2 separate regions of the Homo sapiens genome follow, and region 1 is linked to region 2. The links are contacts of gene promoters, found by promoter capture Hi-C in human tissues and cell types (Jung and others, 2019). All regions are on one chromosome and are shown on one strand. Each heading gives the region's core, a stretch centred on a gene start or on the middle of the fragment in contact. The rest is flanking DNA. Distances are from core to core; before and after follow the strand shown. Region 1 overlaps NCOA6 (nuclear receptor coactivator 6). Region 2 holds the start of EIF6 (eukaryotic translation initiation factor 6).

The links. The method cuts DNA at HindIII sites, captures the fragments that hold promoters and counts their contacts. A contact is called where the count stands out against the background at its distance.
Region 1: a contact is called between a fragment that was not itself captured here and the fragment with the promoter of EIF6 in region 2, in 1 of the 25 tissues and cell types used here (dorsolateral prefrontal cortex).

The regions. Positions count from the first base shown.
Region 1 is chr20:34,715,966-34,718,909 of GRCh38, reverse strand. All of the region lies in intron 14 of NCOA6 (nuclear receptor coactivator 6), which reads left to right. Among named protein-coding and RNA genes, the nearest start is that of TP53INP2, 13 kb to the right of the region's middle. The HindIII fragment of the contact is 3,259 bases long and covers 1-2,944 here.
Region 2 is chr20:35,282,813-35,286,021 of GRCh38, reverse strand. It overlaps EIF6 (eukaryotic translation initiation factor 6), which reads left to right and starts at 1,250. Exons shown (of 7, transcript NM_002212.4): 1 at 1,250-1,296; 2 at 1,530-1,641; 3 at 1,761-1,846. The coding sequence starts at 1,535. It overlaps FAM83C (family with sequence similarity 83 member C), which reads left to right. Exons shown (of 4, transcript NM_178468.6): 4 at 1-291. It overlaps FAM83C-AS1 (FAM83C antisense RNA 1), which reads right to left and starts at 771. Exons shown (of 2, transcript NR_109815.1): 1 at 707-771; 2 at 250-552. RefSeq lists an enhancer at 688-1,238 and a silencer at 1,331-1,520. The HindIII fragment of the contact is 18,620 bases long and covers 1-3,209 here.

The sequences.
Region 1 (2,944 bases), core at 308-2,807, 570 kb after region 2:
CAGCCTTTAGGAACAGCGTGCCAATCACAGTCTGAGGTACACCCTGACTGGATCATTAGCCTCTACATCACTTACCTAGAATTTCTTACCTTAAAGTAATTTGTGGCCAGGCTCAGTGGCTCACTTCTGTAATCCTAACGTTCTGGGAGGCTGAGGCGGGCAGATCAGTTGAGGTGAGGAATTTGAGATCAGCCTGGCCAACATGGCCAAACCCCATCTCTACTAAAAATACAACCATTAGCTGGGCGTGGTGGTGCATGCCTGTAATCCCAGCTACTAGGGAGGCTGAGGCAGGAGAATTGCTTGAACCCAGGGGGTGGAGGTTGCAGTGAGTTCAGATCGCACCACTGCACTCCAGCCTGGGCGACAATCCGAGACTGTCTCAAAAAAAAAAGTAATTTGCAAGACTCCATCTCAAAAAAAAAAAAAGGTGATTTGCCTATTCATTAGAGTAGTAAAAGTGGTAACATTTTGGAGGGAGTAGAAAATCAACTACCAAAACAAAAAAACTCATCAAAAGATGTTTTTTTCAGACAGATTTTTTTCAGACATGATGGGGAACAGTGGCAAAGGACCTCACTGTTGGAGGTGAAAATCCCAAGTTTGGTTTTAGACATGTTGAGTCTGAGGTTTGCTCTATGTCTCAGATTGACTGGATTTATCCAGGGAAGGTGATAGAGACTTCAAACTCAGTTTAAAATTTATTTTTTTCCTCATGGAAGTATGAAAGTTTACATCCTTCTCCCCACCAACCACAGTATCCAAAAGATGAGGGTTTTTAATGGTGTGTTTGTGGGTTTTTTTGCAGTTTCTAGCACAAGTCATTTGTTTATTCCTGACCCCACTCATTGATTCACGCTCAGAGGCAACCTACCAGTTCATTGGGTGCTTCGGAGCAGTGACAAATGGGAACAAGCAAGGAAGGAGGGGGAGCCTGAGGTTGCTTCTCCCCCACACCCCACTACCCACTTCTTTTCCCAGCCACATATGTTTCTCAGACATACCACTTGATCCTTCATATCACAACAAGGGAAAAGCTTCCAAAGTTGACCTAGTTAATGAATGTTTTGCTGAGGATGAACACTGTCAAGACAAAAACCCTGCCTATTTTTACTGCAAATGACAAATTTGCTGCAGTGAAAATAACGCTTGAGATTTGGACCTGAAGAGTTGATTTTAGGGAGTTATGTGGGCTGTGTGAGACTCTTTAATTTACATGAATTAAAATAAAGAACACCATTATTAACATCCTGGCAGATTAACTGTCTTCTGATTAGTAAAAGACTAATGAGTAAATCAGAAAGACTGATTCTACCACATGGCACAAAAAAAAACATGACCTTTGAGAAGACAAACATACTGAAATTTCCACCAACAGAGGCTTGAATGAAATTACTGTACTGGGCACCTCTTGGAAATTCATCTAGACCGCACTTCTTTTTATTTTTTTATTTTTTTTGAGACGGAGTCTCAATCTTGTTGCCCAAGCTGGAGTGCAATGGCGCAATCTCGGCTCACCACAACCTCCACCTCCCAGGCTCAAGCAATTCTCCTGCCTTAGCCTCCCGAGTAACTGGGATTACAGGCATGCACCACCACACCTGGCTAATTTTCTTTATTTAGTAGAGATGGGGTTTCTCCACGTTGGTCAGGCTGCTCTTGAACTCTTGACCTCAGGTGATCCACCCGCCTCAGACTCCCAAAGTGCTGGGATTACAAGCATGAGCCACCACGCCTGGCCTAGGCCTCACTTCTTAGCAGTCACCTTAGCTAACAGAGTAGTGAAATTTTTCCTTACAATCTACATATTTATTAGAGTCTGGGTTCACAAAATATTATGATACAAAAGACAAAGGAAAATTTGCCTTGAATACAACCTAACATGCAGTATCAGAAAATTCAGCCTAGTTACCAGAAATGGGTAAATCTGATTCATCTTTTGTATTGATATATTAGAAGCATTTTTTTTCTCCTTGATGAGAAGTAATTTTAGAACATTATTTTCATATTAAAACCAGAATATGAAATAAAGGTGACCTTTTGAAGTCAATATGAGATTCTAAAGAAGTGTTTACCTTTGGAGAGCTTCAGGCTATTCACTGTACTCTGCCATAACTTTGTGTAGAATTTTTTTTTTTTTTTTAAATAGAGATGGGGTCTCTGTCACCCAGGCTGGAGTACAGTGGCATGAACATAGCTCACTTCAGCCTTGAACTCCTTCAGCCATGAACTCCTGGGCTCAAGTGATCCTCCCACTTGGTCTCCTGAGTAGCTGGGACTACAGGCATGTGCCACCACACCCAGCTAATTCTTTTCTTTTTGTAGAGATGGGTTCTCACCATCTTGCCCAGGCTGGCCTCAAAACTTCTGGGCTCAAGTGAGCTTCCTGCGTCAGTCTTCCAAAGTGTTGGGATTACAGGGGTGAGCCATCACACCTGGCCAAAACGTTTTTAAGAAACACAGTTTAAGTCTGGCATAAGATTAAGTTAAAACACTGATAGTACAAGAGAAACTAAAGGAATCAAAACATAGTCATTTCCCTGTATGTCACTGTCATTCTGTGTGTAAATCACTCAGTTCCCACCTCCTCCATGAAGCCTTCAGGCTCACTTGGGCTCAGAGCAGGCCGTTGCTTATTCTGAATTGCATTCATGACTGTATGTATCCACAGTCTTTTTTTTTTTTTTTTTTTTTGAGACGGAGTCTCGCTGTCTCCAGGCTACAGTACAGTGGTGGGATATCGGCTTACTGGAACCTTCACCTCCGTAGTTCAAGCAATTCCCCTGCCTCAGCCTCCTGAGTAGCTGGGATTAAGGCACACGCCACCACGCCCGGCTAGTTTTTCGTGTATTTTTAGTAGAGATGGGGTTTCGCCATGTTGGCCAAACTAGTCTCAAACTCCTCACCTCAGGCAATCCGCCCACCTCGGCCTCCCAAAATGCTG
Region 2 (3,209 bases), core at 1-2,500:
GATGCCCTAAAGAGGACTGAGTGGGTCTGAGGTGAATGAGTGAGGAAGAGCAGAGTATGTGGATACCCGGAAACACACACACACACACATCATCATTATCATCATCATCATTGTCGTCGTCATCATCTTGCTGAGTCATCATCATCATCATCATCATTGTCGTCGTCATCATCTTGCTGAGTGTCTCTTGAAGTACAGGCTGTGACAGGTTGTGGGCCATTTTCCTGAACTCACCACTTACCCGGGATAGTAAACATGATACACATCAATAAAGGCAGACTTTATTGTGAATCACAGCGCCTGGTGTATCCTGAACTTTGAGGAGTTATGGGAGGGACACGTTGGGGGAATGGGAAGGGCACCATTCAGGCCAATTATGGGGAAACCCCTGGAGGAGGGTGAATGCCGAAGGAGGAATTGGGGGAGTCCAGGGGCTCCAAGTTACCACTGTGACATTTTGAGAGAACCCGGGGCTTTTGCAGATTCTACAAAATGTGGGCCAAGTTCATCCTGTCCAAGTGTGCAGCAGGGCCCTTGGCCCCCATCACTATCCTGGGGACAGAAGTTGGCTGCTGAGTGAGTGATAGAGGCCGTGCGAGAGGCACATCGTGGAAGCCAACCAGCACCCACATCCTTGCCCACCCTGGACCCCTTTCCAGCCTTTTCCTGAGCCCCTGCTTCCTCAGTCCTCCCCTCTCTCCAGCACCTGCAGCCTGGCTGCCTTTCCGTCTCTGGCTGCGCTCTTTCTCCAGCCTCGGTCTGGCCGCACTTCTGCCTCCTGGAACTCTCTCCATGGGTAGCCTCTTCTAGTCCACCCGTCTTCAGCCCCTCATCTCATTCGTCAGCACTCCACTCCCCTGCTGGGCTCCAGACATGGACTTCTGTCCCTCAAGGCACAGCTGGACTCATCCCTTTCCCCAAACCTGCCCTTCCTCCGGCTTCATTTCCATCAATACCTCCATCATCAACCCTTCCGCGAGACACTCCTGGCCCCTCCTCTCCCTCATGCCTCACAACCGACCAGCCGGAGGTCTAGGTCGATGACAGCTCCTAAAAAGCTCCTGAATGAATAATGAATGAATGAACGCGAGCAGGCTAGGCGTGGGGCCAGGCGGGGTCGCGCCCAGACCGCTCGCGACCATAGAGTCCGCCGGAGGCCGGAGGTAGAGGGGCTGGATGCGTGGCGGGGAGCGCCGGGCTCTCCCGGAAGTCTCCCTGGACGGAAGTGGAAACGGAAACCTTTTTAGGGAGTCCAAGGTACAGTCGCCGCGTGCGGAGCTTGTTACTGGTTACTTGGTAAGCTGGTGTGAGGGGAACCTGGGAGGGTCAGCTCCGGTCCTGGGTCGGGAGGGGTGGGGGCCAGAGGATTCAGGGCCGGAGGTTCTGGTGGGGGCCCAGTGGGCGGGACCCGAGGACGGAGGGGCCGGGAGGCCGAGAGGGGCGGGGTCGCGGCGGGGCCTGAGGGACGGAGGCCGGGATACTTGGGAAAGGATCCGCCGGCCTTGAACTCCCGCCTCCGCCGCCCCTAGGCCTCATGGCGGTCCGAGCTTCGTTCGAGAACAACTGTGAGATCGGCTGCTTTGCCAAGCTCACCAACACCTACTGTCTGGTAGCGATCGGAGGCTCAGAGAACTTCTACAGGTGCGGCGGGAGCCCCGGGGCTTACGGTGGCGGGGAGGCGTGCGCAGGAGTCAAGAGCTCCGGCAGTGGGAGGGTGCCGGCCCCTCTGCCCCGCCACCACCGAGTCCATGTCCCTACAGTGTGTTCGAGGGCGAGCTCTCCGATACCATCCCCGTGGTGCACGCGTCTATCGCCGGCTGCCGCATCATCGGGCGCATGTGTGTGGGTAAGGCAGGTGGAGGACGCCGAGGGAGGGAGTGGTCTCCAAGCACCATTAATTACACCCCCGGAGGGAACCCGGAGTGACCTAGGGATTCCCAGGGTATCATCTGTTATCTCTGGGCACTATAGAATCTCTCAGGCCAAGCGTCAGGAGATCGGGGCAACCCTCTAGCAAAGGCTGCTGGATAATAGTAATAACAAATAATGTAAAGTGCTTTCACTCCTGTTCTCATTCCTTCGTCACAAAGACACTAGAAGGTAGGAGTTACTGGCCTAACTTGACTGATGAGGAAGTTGAGACTTGACCTAAGTGACTCAGTAAGTTCCACACCTAGTTCCTAGTGTTGGAGAAGGATTTTTCTCTTTTTTTTTTTTTTTTGAGGCCAGATTTTTGCTCTTTCGCCCAGGCTGGAGTGCAGTGGCAAGATCACAGCTGTCTGCATCCTCAACTTCTTAGGCTCAAGTGATCCTCCCACCTCAGCCTACCAGGTAGCTAGGGCCACAGGCACGTGCCACCACACCTGGCTAATTTTTACATTTTTGGTAGAGACGCGGCCTCCCTGTGTTGCCCAGCCTGGCCTTGATCTCCTGGGCTCAAGTGATCTTCTTACCTTGGTCTCTTAAAGTGTTGGGATTATAGGCGAGAGCCACTATACCCAGCCGAGGATTTGTATCTCATCTCTCCCTGCCACTGACTGGGCAAGGTGCTTTCTCTTTCTAAGCATCCATTTCTGTCTCTGTAAAGATTAGCTAAGATATGCGGTCTTCCTGCTCAGTTACGTTGGAATCTTAAATTCCCTTTACCACATCTCTACCCTACCTTCCTACCTGTCAGCACTGTTAATTCTGGTCGTTGGTCCTTTCCTTTTTATTATTATTATTATTTTTTTTTGAGATGGAGTTTTCGCTCTTGTTGCCCAGGCTGGAGTGCAATGGCACGATCTTGGCTCACTGCAACACTCTCTTCAAGTGATTCTCCTGCCTCAGCCTCCCAAGTAGCTGGGATTACAGGCGCATCCCGCCACACCCGGCTAATTTTTTTGTATTTTTAGTAGAGATGGAGTTTCACCATGTTGGCCAGGCTGGTCTTGAACTCCTGACCTCAGGTGATCCTCCCACCTCGGCCTCCCAAAGTGCTGGGATTACAGGCGTGAGCCACTGCGCCCGGCCGGTCCTTTCATTAAGCTGGATCTGTCTTCCATTACTGCTGCCCATTGTTTCTTAGTTCTGCTCATTGAGGTCACTTTTAGAAGTCTGTTTATTTTATTTTTTTACTTTTACTTTAATTTTTAAAAATCTTAAGCCTGCTTGGGAGGTCGAGGCAGGTGGATCACCTGAGGTCAGCAGTTCGAGACTAACCTGACCAA